Linked DNA regions of Homo sapiens: all the other regions are linked to region 1. Evidence: promoter capture Hi-C in 16 types of primary human blood cells and fetal thymus (Javierre and others, 2016). All regions are on one chromosome and are shown on one strand. The core of a region is centred on a gene start or on the middle of the fragment in contact, and the rest is flanking DNA. Distances in the headings are between cores, read along the strand shown.

What was found. The method cuts DNA at HindIII sites, captures the fragments that hold promoters and counts their contacts. A CHiCAGO score of 5 or more calls a contact.
Region 2: the fragment with the promoter of AP1S3 here is called in contact with the fragment with the promoter of MOGAT1 in region 1 in 1 of 17 cell types (M0 macrophages); the score reaches 9.3 in M0 macrophages.
Region 3: a contact is called between a fragment that was not itself captured here and the fragment with the promoter of MOGAT1 in region 1, in 2 of 17 cell types (M0 macrophages and M1 macrophages). The highest score is 5.2, in M0 macrophages.

What each region holds. Positions count from the first base shown.
Region 1 is chr2:222,669,357-222,673,344 of GRCh38, forward strand. It overlaps MOGAT1 (monoacylglycerol O-acyltransferase 1), which reads left to right and starts at 2,302. Exons shown (of 6, transcript NM_058165.3): 1 at 2,302-2,523. The coding sequence starts at 2,430. It overlaps LOC124907985 (a long non-coding RNA gene), which reads left to right. Exons shown (of 2, transcript XR_007088095.1): 2 at 1,280-1,646. The HindIII fragment of the contact is 3,409 bases long and covers 80-3,488 here.
Region 2 is chr2:223,834,714-223,839,134 of GRCh38, forward strand. It overlaps AP1S3 (adaptor related protein complex 1 subunit sigma 3), which reads right to left and starts at 2,869. Exons shown (of 5, transcript NM_001039569.2): 1 at 2,735-2,869. The coding sequence starts at 2,737. RefSeq lists enhancers at 2,276-2,365, 3,236-3,415 and silencers at 2,476-2,905, 2,936-3,065. The HindIII fragment of the contact is 4,145 bases long and covers 2,394-4,421 here.
Region 3 is chr2:223,925,166-223,929,048 of GRCh38, forward strand. All of the region lies in intron 1 of WDFY1 (WD repeat and FYVE domain containing 1), which reads right to left. Among named protein-coding and RNA genes, the nearest start is that of WDFY1, 18 kb to the right of the region's middle. The HindIII fragment of the contact is 2,720 bases long and covers 1-2,615 here.

The DNA of each region.
Region 1 (3,988 bases), core at 1,052-3,551:
AGCTGCAGCAGGACAAAGACTTTTCTTATTCACCATTGTAACTCATCTCCTTTCCCTACCCAGTGCCTAATACATAGAAAGCTTTCCACAAATAGTCAATAAGTAAATGTGTGTAAATTCTCAAAGGCACAGAGACCTCATCTTAATTCACGTTTGTGTCATCAGTACCAAGGACAATGCCCAAGGCAATGCAGGCACTCCATAAATGTTTGTTCTATGTTTGGTTCAGTTGATGAAGGGATGACTCGCCTCTCCAGGTTTTATAGAAATTTGAATCTTCTCTATTCTGCCATTTACCAGCTGTGTGACTTTAAGCCCTAATTTCCTCAGCTGCAAAGTTGAAGTGAATGCGTACTTTGTAGGGTTTTTGAGATTACGCCTGTGAGGTCTCTGCAGAGTGCCTGACATAGGGTGTGTTCGTAGTGTCCCCACCTAGCACTGGGGGAAGATTCAAGGAAGAAATCTAAAAGGAAAGAAGAAAGTGACTCCTTAAGTAGGAGGAAAAAGAAACCCAAACAAGTTTTGCATACAAAAAATCACAAACAACTCCTCCAAGTGGCCCTGGTATTTGTTTTAATCCAACTCCCTTTGTATTAAAATGTTGAAGGAGAAAAGGGCATAGGATGGGGGAGAAAGGAGGGCCAACTATATTGTTTTGCCCTGTTCCAAGTCCTCTTCAGCAATGACTTGACAGCTGCTCATCATTTTGAGTTTTTCAACTATGTGGTAATTAATATTTATAAATAAAGTGCAGTGGTTGCTCCCAAGGACTAGGCACTATTTAGAATCTAGCCATCCATTTAGCACATCGTAATTGAAACCCTTCAGTGTCTTGTACTGCTCTTGGGGTTCAAACTTGAACCCTAACTCAGTCTGCAAGGGTCTGGACCTTGCCCACCATTTTTGCCTGATGTCACCCCAATCTCACCCTTGTCCCCCAAGCTCTCACTCTTTGAGCTCTTCTTGGAGTTCAGCCACAGGACCTTTGCATATGTGCTTCCCTTTGCCCGGATGACTCCTGGGTTAACTAGATTTGGCTACAGCTCAAGTAAGGGCACTTCTTCAGACACTTCCCTGACCGTGCAGCAGTCTTGGTTTTGGAATCTTCTAGTCATTCACAGTAGGGTCTTACTTGTAATTATACACCAAATTGTGTAGTTGTTTTGCTTATGTCTGTTTCCCCCTGTACTCTGAGAACAAGACAATGAATAGCTTGTGTCAGGCCTCTGAGCCAAAGCTCAGCCATTATAACCTCTGTGACCTGCATGTACACATCCAGGTGGCCTGCAGGAGCCAAGAAGCCTGGAGCAGCCAAAAAAAACGCAAAGAAGTAAAACAGCCAGTTCCTGCCTTAACTGATTAACCAACATTACAACATTTTACCATTGTGACTTGTCCCTGCCCTACCTTAGCCGATCAATCGACTTTGTGACATTCTTCTTCTGGACAATGAGTCTTATGATCTCCCCACCCTGTACCTTGTGACCCCTTCCTCTGCTAACAATAGATAACCACCTTCTACTGTAATTTTCCATTACCTAGACAACTCCTATAAAGCAACCCCTTCCCCATCTCCCTTCGCTGACTCTTTTTCGGACTCAGCTGACTTGCACCTAAGTGAATAAACAGCCTTGTTGCTCACACAATGCCTGTTGGTGGTCTCTTCACACGGATGCGCTTGACAGCTTGGTTATCCAAGCGCCCGGATGGTGCTCAGCAAGTGGCAAGTGCTCAATAAATGTGGGTTGAATGAATGAATGGGTGAAAGATTCCCGGAGCTCCTGTAGGGAACTGAGGACCCAAGAGTGAGGAAGCCAGGTCCCCTTCCCCATCCGCGGGGAAATTGGAGGTTGCGGGGGGACACAGATCAATAAACTAAGAAACAAGTCTCGCTCATCTCTCCAGCTGGTGTGCGATTCCTCAAACTAACCCTTCCCCAATCACCGAGGGTTCGAATGAAGGGGTGGGATGCTGAAGGCAAGCGCTGGGTGATCGATCAGCTGAACAATGGTCAGATCCTGGTGGAGATCCCAGGTCCTCAGCCAGGCGGCAGGAGCCCGCGCTGCCCGGCTCGGGCTGGCTGCCAGTTGACCCCTCTCCCCGTCCCTCGTGTCCCACGCGGCGCACTCTCGCCAACGCCCGGCGCGCCAGCCAATGCGCCCGGGCCGCTGTAGCTGCTCCGGGGCCAGGGCGCTGGGCCAGCTCTGGCGCCCGGCGCTTGTGATTGGCTGCCCCCAGCCTCAGCCCAGCGCGCCCTCCCACCCAGGGCGCAGTTGGGTCCCCGCTCGCTGCCTAGCCTCTGCCTTTTCCTCTCCGCCCAGCCAGTGCCCAGCGCGGGGCCCGGATCCGGCCGGGCACTTCCCACAGGCGCCGCAGAGCAGCGTGGGTGCAGGCTGCAGTGGCTGGCGCCGTCCTCGCCCGGCCAGGCCATGAAGGTAGAGTTTGCACCGCTCAACATCCAGCTGGCGCGGCGGCTGCAGACGGTGGCCGTGCTGCAGTGGGTCCTGAAATACCTGCTGCTCGGTAAGGACCCCGCCCCCCGGGCCGCGGGGCTTGGGCTCCATATCCTCCCTCGGGACGGTCCGGATTCCAGGACCTGCATAGAACCTTCCAACCCTCGTTCCCCTGTCGGCCAGAGCAGGCAGGTCAAAGAGGGCATTTGGAGCTAACGTGGACTCTGGTTTCCTCACGAGAACCTCATCGCTAACGACTGTTTAATTTTATTTTCTCCTGCGTTACTTTTTTAAATTGAGGTGCACCTTGCCTACAATAAAAGGCGCAGTTATACGGATACAGCTCGATGACTTTTGGCGACTGTATCTACCAAAATGTAACCATGACCCCATCGAACGCATGAGCACTTTAACCCCTCAAAAGTTGGCAAACTCGTTTCTCGAACTGTTGATTCATAGATGGCAAAGTAATGCCTCAGTAGTTAAAACCTTGTTCCTTCTCCCTCTTTGTCTCCCCACCCTCCTGACAAAGAGCAGTGTTCCCTTTCCCGTTTTGGAGATTTCCTGGATGCATAGCAGTACCTTTCTGTAAAGAAGGCTGCACCACTCATTGCATTTGGTTGAGCGGTTTCTCTCTGGAAATAGTTTGACTCAGTAGCGTGTGTGTTCCAGTTGGTTCCCAAGTTGAGCCCATGAAACATACACGAGCCGAATCATTAGATGGGGCAAAAACGTGGGTGGTTTTTCTTTTTGTTTTTTGTTTTTTCCTTCATATTTGTTCTGCTCTTGAAGTAAATAGGGGTGATGTGGGAGGAGGGAGGAATTTGGGGGAGACCCTTCTATTGAAACATAAACTCTTCTGAAGACTAAGATCATGTGTATGCTGTAAGATCATGGATTGTACAGCGTTGGGGTGGTAATAATAGTAATAAGCCCATTGCATTGGAGAGTTTTACACTTTTAAAACTGCTTTTACATTTCGAAAGCCTGAATCAGTGGTTCTCAACCCTGGCTCTAGATGAGAATCACTGGAGAAGCTTCTAAAAAGTGCAGATGCCCAGGCTCCATCCTGGAATTTGTTTATTATTATTATTATTATTATTATTATTATTATTATCTTTGAGACGGAGTTTCACTCTTGTTGCCCACGCTGGAGTGCAGTGGCGCCATCTCGGCTCACCACAACCTCCGCCTCCCGGGTTCAAGTAATTCTTCTGCCTCAGCCTGCCGAGTAGCTGGGGTTACAGGCATGTGCCACCACATCTGGCTAATTTTGTCTTTTTAGTAGAGACGGGGTTTCTCCATGTTGGTCAGGGTGGTCTCGAACTCCCAATCTCAGGTGATCCGCCTGTCTCAGCCTCCCAAAGTGCTGGGATTACAGGCGTGAGCCACCGCGCCCGGCTCATCCCTGGAATTTCTAAGTCATTTGTTTCAGAATGAAGTCTGTACACCTTTTTTTTTTTCCTTTTTCCTCTTAAGAACTCTCCGAGTGACTCTCCTGTGCTGCTAGGTAGAATTTACCAAAAAAAAAAAAA
Region 2 (4,421 bases), core at 1,619-4,118, 1.2 Mb after region 1:
ACCACTGCACTCAGCTTGGGCGACACAGAGACCCTGTCTCAAAAATAAATAAATAAAAAGAAAAAACAATAGTAAACCTATTACACATTAAACATAAATAACATTTTTATGACCAATAACAATATTTTTCCAAAGCAAAAAAAAAATTAGTGAAAAGCATGGCACTGTTTTACAATTTTGCAAATCTCCTTAATGTCTGGGCTTATCAAAGACAGTTGGACTTTCCTATCTGCATCTGTGTTCAATCTGTTGTACTATCTCAGCTTATGTAGACACAAGAAAACTTCACTGTAGTCTTGTGAGAATGAGAATGAAATGGGAAAATTAATATCTTAGTATTATTATGAAAATAGTTTTGACCTTGCAGACCTCCAGTAAAAGTCTTGGGGACTGCTGGGGGTACCCAGGTCACACTTTCAGAACCTCTGCCTTATGAGTTAGGAGATATTATCTCCATTTTTCAAATGGGCAAACTGAGACAGAGAGGTCAAGGAATTGTCCAAGGCCATACTGCTAGAATAGCTCAGAGTAGCTAAAATGCAATGAGCATAACAGATTTAACCTCAATTGTTTGTTGCAAGGATTGAATGAGATCGTGAATATAAAGAGCAGGACATCCTGCTTGTCTTATCACAAATGCCCAATAACATTAATGTTTCCCCGCCAGGTGCGGTGGCTCATGCCTGTAATGCCAGCACTTTGGGAGGCCGATGCAGGTGGATCACGAGGTCAGGAGTTTGAGACCAGCCTGGCCAACATGGCAAAACCCCGTCTCTACTAAAAATACAAAAATTAGCTAGGCGTGGTGGCGGGCGCCTGTAATCCCAGCTACTTAGGAGGCTGAGGCAGGAGAATTGCTTGAACTCGGGAGATGGAGGTTGCAGTGAGCCAAGATCATGCCACTGCACTTCAGCCTGGGTGACAGAGCAAGATTCCGTCTCGAAGAAAAAAAAATAATAATAATGTTTCCCATTTAGCAAAAACTGGTAGAAAAGCTGGAGAAACTTCCCACATTTCTGATCAACTCATCACACATATGACACCAGCAAGAAAAAATAAAACTCCACCACAGGTATTGTCCAGAGGAGCAGCTTTTCCTTATAGACCAAACCTTGGCCCATTCCTCAGCACAAAAGCAGCCTTTGATGACTCAGAAACGCAGGGCCTTATTCCAGCCTCTGTTAGGCAAATTACACTGGTGGACTGGGCATCTGTCACCTTGTTCCTTGGGAAACTTGAGCAAGCCAAGAAACCTGCTCCATTATTTACAGCATTGTTTTTGCATCACGCTGTATTTACAAGGAACCCTCAACAGACAAAAATGATGCCGCTAGTGTGTGCAGCCAAACCTTTAACAGAAACCAGCAACTGCGGTCTTGCTGGCCAGGTGCTCAGCACTCCCCGGCTCTCTTTGTTGATCAACTTTCTTAGCCCACGTGGCCCACCCACTCCTGCCTCCGGTGGGCCCACAGGGTGCAGGTCACTTCCCTTCTGCGGATTTGGGAAGTGGTAACACACTTGGGGAAGTGGGACTAGTGACGTTCAGACCACCACACTCTTAAAAGGCTGCCCCTAAACAGCAGGCAAGAGCAAGAGGAGCCTGAGCTATCGCTTCCACCCAAGTGCAGGTCACCAGATCTCTCATCAGCAGGGCTGCGGCCGGCCTCAGCTTCCAACCTGACCCCCTATCCCCTGCCCTTACACACCCCAGTCCATTCTCCAACCACAGCCAAACTGCACACCATGCCGGGTGCAGTGGCTCACCCCTGTAATCCCTACACTTTGGGAGGCCGAGGCAGGCGGATCACCTGAGGTCAGGAGTTCGAGACCAGCCTGGCCAACATGGTGAAACCCCGTCTCTACTAAAAATACAAAAATTAGCTGGGTGTGGTGGCACACGCCTGTAATCCCCGTTACTCGGGAGGCTGAGGCAGGAGAATCGCTTGAACCCGGGAGGCAGAGCCGAGACCACACCACTGCACTTCAGCCTGGGCGACAGAGCGAGATCAGTCTCAAAAAAACAAAAGTGCACAACGGGTAAGGTCAGTTTTCTTGCTAAAACGTCCCCGAGGTTTCCCCTACTCAGTTGGAACCAAAACCAAACTCCTTATTTTGGCCTATAAAAACCCGCCTCACCTGGCAGAAGCCCACCTCTCCTGCCACAAACAAGGCCTTCTCCCCTCCGCTTTGCTCTCTCTAATCCACCTGTAGCGCCCCTCCAGGACCTCCAGCAGCTAGAATGTCATGTCCTTGAAGAGGCTTTGCCAAATCAAAAGTTGCCACTCCACCCGGTTGTATTTGAGACTTTACAGCGCTTCTTACTTTAGAAGTTCTCTTCATTTTACTTGTATATTGGACGTGTCCCTCCCTCCGCATCCCCCTCCTGGAAGGTAAGCTTCCTGGAGAACAGGGGCTCCTCCTGGTCCCCCGCGACATCCCCAGCGCCCAGCACCGAGCCCGGCACAGACTAAGCACTCGGCTAAGGCGGATCGAATGAATGAATGGAGCCGCGGCGCCGCGGCGCCGCGTTGCCGCAGGAATCCCGGGCAAGCGATCCTGGCGCGTCCGCACCGTCTGGGGCAGCGGGGCCACAGGGACGCACGGTTCGGGTGGCCAGGCGGGACTCGGCCCGCACCCCCACCCGGCCGCGCGCCCGGCCCGGACGCCCCAGGTGCCTCCCCGGAGCGCGAGCGCCCCCACCGCCTACCCGGGCCGGCGGTTCCCCCGCACTCACCATCGTGGCTGGGCCGCCGCCTCCCCCGCCTTGCGAGCAAGGAGCGCTGGAGAAGCGAGGGCGAGAGGCGAGCGCTGGAGCCGGTGCGGCTGACAGGTGAGGCGCCCGGCTTAGACCATGGCTGCTTCCCACAATGCCCTGGCACTGAAAGTGTGCAGACTCCTCCCAGCGCGGCTGCCTCCTCCCTGCACGCTCCTCCCCGCTGCCTCCTCCCCGCGCCCTCCTCCCCGCTCCCCCCGCTCCTCGCCCTCCTGCTCTCCTTCTTTCTTCCTTTCCCCTTTCTCCTCCCTTCTCCTCCTCCTCCTCCTCTTCCCTCCTTTCTGCCTCTCCTCTGTACCCCCTCCCCGCCCCCGCCTCGGCTGCAGCTGTTCCCGCCCCGAGCCGGCCGCACCTGGAGCGAATGCACCTGCGCGCGCGGGCGTCTGTACCCCGACAGCCCGCAGCTCGGCGCGGGTGGTCAGGCGAGAGCGCGTGGCCCGCTAGGAACTCCCTGCGCGGGGAACTCCCTGCGCGGAGAACACCGGGGACTTTTCGCGATTCTGCCGCGCGAGTGTGTCCTGTATTCCTTCCGCAAACGTTTATCAAACCTGGCAAAGATACTTCCGATACACTCGCAGAAAGTGCCGGGGGCTGCCTTATCCTAAGCCTCCTAGGGAGGGAGCAGTTGGAAGAGAAAGAACTAGAAGCGTTTTCTTATCCCCTTCTGCCCCCATTTCACTTTTTAAAAAGTAAGCTCTGCAGTCTAAGGGCAAAGATCATTTTAAGCAGGCCCCCATTTATTTATTTATTTATTTATTTATTTATTTATTTATTTATTTATTTAGAGACGGAGTGTCGCTCTGTCGCCCCGTCTGGAGTGCAGTGGGGCGATCTCGGCTCCCTGCAACCTCCGCCTCCTGCGTTCAGGGTGATCCACCCGCCTCGGCCTCCCAAAGTGCTGGGATTACAGGCATGAGCCACTGCGCCCGGCAGCACGACCCCCTTTTAAGAAGTCTCTCCTAAGAAGTTGTGGTGTAGAAAGTTCGTTCTCCAATCTCTCCTCCCCTTGACTTTTCTTAAATCTAGGGCGTTGAGAGTCTCTAAACCCCCAAGCTGTAAACAGAGTTTTTTCTTTTTTCTTTTAATTATATTTACCAGATAGACTAGATGTAAGCAGAGTTTTTAATGCATATTCATGTTTTTGAGAAAGGGAGTCCACTGGTTTTATCAAATAGCTAAAGAGATCCTAGACCCTGCAAAAGTTAAGAATCATTTCCTGGGCCAGGCGTGATGGTTCATGCCTGTAATCCCAACACTTTGGGAGGCCCAGGTGGGCGGATCGCTTGAGACCAGAAGTTCGAGACAAGCCTGGCCAACATGGTGAAACGCCGTCTCTACTAAAAATACAAAATTTAGCTGGGCGTGGTGGCACACGCCTGTAGTCCCAGCTACTAGGGAGGCTGAGGCAGGAGAGAATCGCTTGAACCCGGGAGACAAAGGTTGCAGTGAGCTGAGATCATCCAGCCTAGGTAACAGAGTGAGACTCAGTCTGAAAAAAAAAATGTCATTTCCTGGGTGGTCCCTGGAACCCCAAATCAGTGAAAGTCCTTCCCAGGATGTGTTGTGTACCTTCCTAGGGATGTAGGCCCACCCAGGTGACTGAAAATATGGGAAACTCCATCCACCCCTGCATTCACACTGCAAATAT
Region 3 (3,883 bases), core at 6-2,505, 1.3 Mb after region 1:
TCCTGGAGCCCCAATAAAATGTTTATGAAATGGTCAGCTTTTTTGTTCCTAAAAAAAAAAAAAAAAAGCATAACACAGAGATTATTATAACCCTCAGAGATATTGCAGGTTTATCACAATAAAGCAAATGTCGCAACAAAGTGAGTCACACAAATTTTTGGTTTCCCATATGCAAGCTGTAGTTACACTATAGTCTGTTAAGTGTGCAGTAGCATTACATCTAAAAATCAATGTACATACCTTAGTTTTAAAATACTTTATTGCTAAAAAAAAGTTAACGATCATCTGAACCTTCAGCGAGGGGTAATCATTTTGCTGGTGGAGGGTCCTGCCTCAATGTTGATGCTGCTGATCCATCAGGATGGTTGTTGATGAAGGTTGGCGTGGCTGTGGCAACTTCTTAAAATAAGACAACCAAGAAGTTTGTTGCATCGATTGACTCTTCCTTTCCCAAAAGACTTCTCTGTAGCATGCAATGCAATTTAATAGCATTTTACCCATAATAGAACTTCTTTCAAAAGTGGAGTCAATCTTCTTAATGCCTGCTGCTCCTCCATCACCTAAGTTTATGGAATATTCTAAATCTTTTGCTGCCATTTCAACAATGTTCACCGCATCTTCATTAGATGTTGATTCCATCTCAAGAAACCACTTTCTTTGCTCATCCATATGAAACTCTTTAAACATTCAGCTTTTATCATGAGATTACAACAATTCAGTCACATCTATATGTTCCACTTCTAATTCTAATTCTCTTGCTATTTCCACATCTGCAGTTACTGAAGGCTTGAACCCCTCAAAGTTATCCATGAGGGCTGGAATCAACTTCTTCCAAATTCCTATTAATACTGACAGTTTAACCTTCTCTCAAGAATCATGAATGTTCTCAATGACATCTAGAATGGTGAATCCTTTCCAGAAGGTTTTCAACTTACTTTGCCCAGATCTATCAGAGGCACTATCTACGGCAGTTATAGCCTTATAAAAAAATTTTCTTTTGAGACAGGGTCTCCCTCGGTTACTCAGGCTGGAGTGCAGTAGCACAATCAAGGCTCACTGCAACCTATGCTTCCCAGGCTCCAGGGATCCTCCCACCTCAGGTTCCCCAGTAACTGGGACTACAGGCACACACCACGACACCTGGCTAACTTTTTTAAGGCTTTTATAAAGTCTCATTCTACTGCCCAGGCTGGTCACTCAAGTGATCCTGCCACCTCAGCCTCCCAAAGTGCTGAGACTACAAGCATGAGCCAGTATGCCCAGCAAAAGTGTATTTTTTAAATCACAAAACTTGAAAGTTGAAATTACTCCTTGATCCATGAGCTACAGAATGAGTGTTGTATTAGCAGGCATGAAAAACAACATTAATCTCATGGTATGTCTCCATCCTCAGAGTTCTTGGGTGACTAGGTGCATTTTCAATAAGCAAATATACATACATTTACATATATATGTGTGTGTATTTCATATATATACAAATATGTGCGTGTGTGTGTGTGTGTGTGTGTATGTGTATTTTTGAAACAGAGTCTCACTCCATCACCCAGGCTGGAGTGCAGTGGCACAATCTCAGCTCACTGAAACCTCTGCCTCCTAGGCTCAAGCGATTCTCATGCTTCAGCCTCCTGAGCAGCTGGACTTACAGATGTGCAAAACTGTGCCTGGCTAATTTTTGTATTTTTAGTAGAGCCGGGATTTTGCCATGTTGGCCAGGCTGGTGTCGAACTCCTGACCTCAAGTGATCTGTCTGCTTCGGCCTCCCAAAGTGCTGGTATTACAGGTGTCAGCCACCGTTTCCGGCCAACAAGCAATAATATTTTGAAAGGAATCTTTTTTTCTGAGCAGTAGGTCTCAACAATGGGCCTAAAATATTCAGTAAACCATGCTGTCAACACACATGTTGTCATCCAGGCTTTGTTGTTCCATTTATAGAGCACATGGCAAAGTAGACTTAACATAATTCTTAATGGTCTTAGGATTTTTGGAATGGTTAATGAGCAATGACTTCAACTTAAAGTTACCAGCTGCATTAGCCACAGAAGAAAGTCAACCTATCTTTTGGAGCTTTGAAGCCAGGCACTGACTTCTCTACTAGCTATGAAAGTCCTAGATGGCATCTTCTTCCAAAAGAATTGTTTGGTCTGCATTGAAAATCTATTGTTTAATGTAATTGCTTTTGCCAATTATCTTCACTAGATCTTCTGGATAACTTGCTGCAGCTTCTACATTAGCACTTGATGCTTCACTTTGCACTTTTATGTTATGTAGACTGCTTCTTTCCTTAAACCTAATGTGCCAATTCTGCTAGCTTCAAACTTTTCTTCTGTAGCTTCCTCACCCCTCTCAGGCTTCATAAAATCGAAGAGGATTAAGGCCTTGCTCTGGATGAGGCTTTGGCTTAAGAGAATGTTGTGGCTGGTCTGATCTTCTATTCAGATCACTAAACCTTTCTCCGTATCATCAATAAGGCTGTTTTGCTTTCTTATTCATGTTTTCACTAGATTAGCACTTTTAATTTCCTTCAAGAACTTTTCATTTGCATCCATAACTTGGCTGTTTGGTGCAAAAGGCCTAGCTTTCGGCCTGTCTCAGCTTTTGATGTGCCTTCCTCACTAAGCTTAATCATTTCTAACGTTTGATTTAAAGTTAGAGATATGTGACTCTTCCTTTCACTTGAACACTCAGAGGCTATTGTAGGGTTATTCACTGGCCTAATTTCAATATTGTTGTGTCTCAGGGAATAAGGAGGCCTGGGGGGAAAGGGGGAAAGGAGGGAGGCAGGGAAAGAGGGAGGGAGAGAGAGAGAGACAGACAGACATAGGGTAACAGCCCGTTGATGGAGTATTCAGATCACACACACTATCATTTAAGTTTGCCATCTTATGTGGGCACAGTTTGTGGCTCCCCAAAACAATTACAATAGTAATATCAAAGATCACTGAACACAGACCACCACAACAGATATAATAATAAAGTTTGGAATATTGCAAGAATTACCAAAATGTGACACAGAGACACAAAGTGAGCACAATGTATTGGAAAAATGGCACAGATAGACTTGCCTGGTGCATGGTTGCCATAAACCTTCAATGTGTACAAAATGCAGTATCTGAGAAGCACAATAAAACAAGGTATGCTTGTATCAAATCATATAACTAAATTATGCAACCACACTACATCAGGCTGGGCAGGGCAGGTAGGGAGGCTGATAAAGGACAGGAGAAGGGGAGGAGAAGAGAACCCACCTCCAAGGCAGACAATGTCCTGGGCTCCTTGTGAGAACCCCAGAGAAAAGATACGGAGGCTGAGTTCTGGCAGAACAGCAGGATACCTGCTGACCGACCTCCCCAGTGAGCCACAATTAAACATTTTGCGCAATGAGCCTTGAGGCACTTAGGGACTTATTTTATGTGGTTTTCAAGAGTGGCTACCTAAAATTCTACATGTTAAAATGTTCCACTCCCTAAGAGTCTATCCTTTAAATTGCTGTCCCCACCAAAAGCAAAAACAGAAGTCATTGGAATCCGAAGCAATTTCAAATATAGTGGCACAACTTTCCTTTTTTCCATAAGGCAGATGCCAGAGGCTTCAGTTGTCCATCGCTGAGTACACTCACCCTGGCCTATGCTGGCCTTCAAATGAACTTGTGCCTTGGGTCAGGCTTGGGATTCTGGAGCACCATCTGCCCCCAGTGAGTCTATTAGTGGATTCAACGTGTCTGCAGATGTTATTGCAGGGGGGGTGAGAGAGCCCCAGGACCAAAAAGGAGACATGGACCTGGACACCAGACTAGAGGTGCCTGGGTAGCCAGGGGCCTTGATAGCATCGTTCCCAAAGGAGCAGTGAGCAGAAGGCAGAGCCAGCAGAGCTGGCCAAGACATCA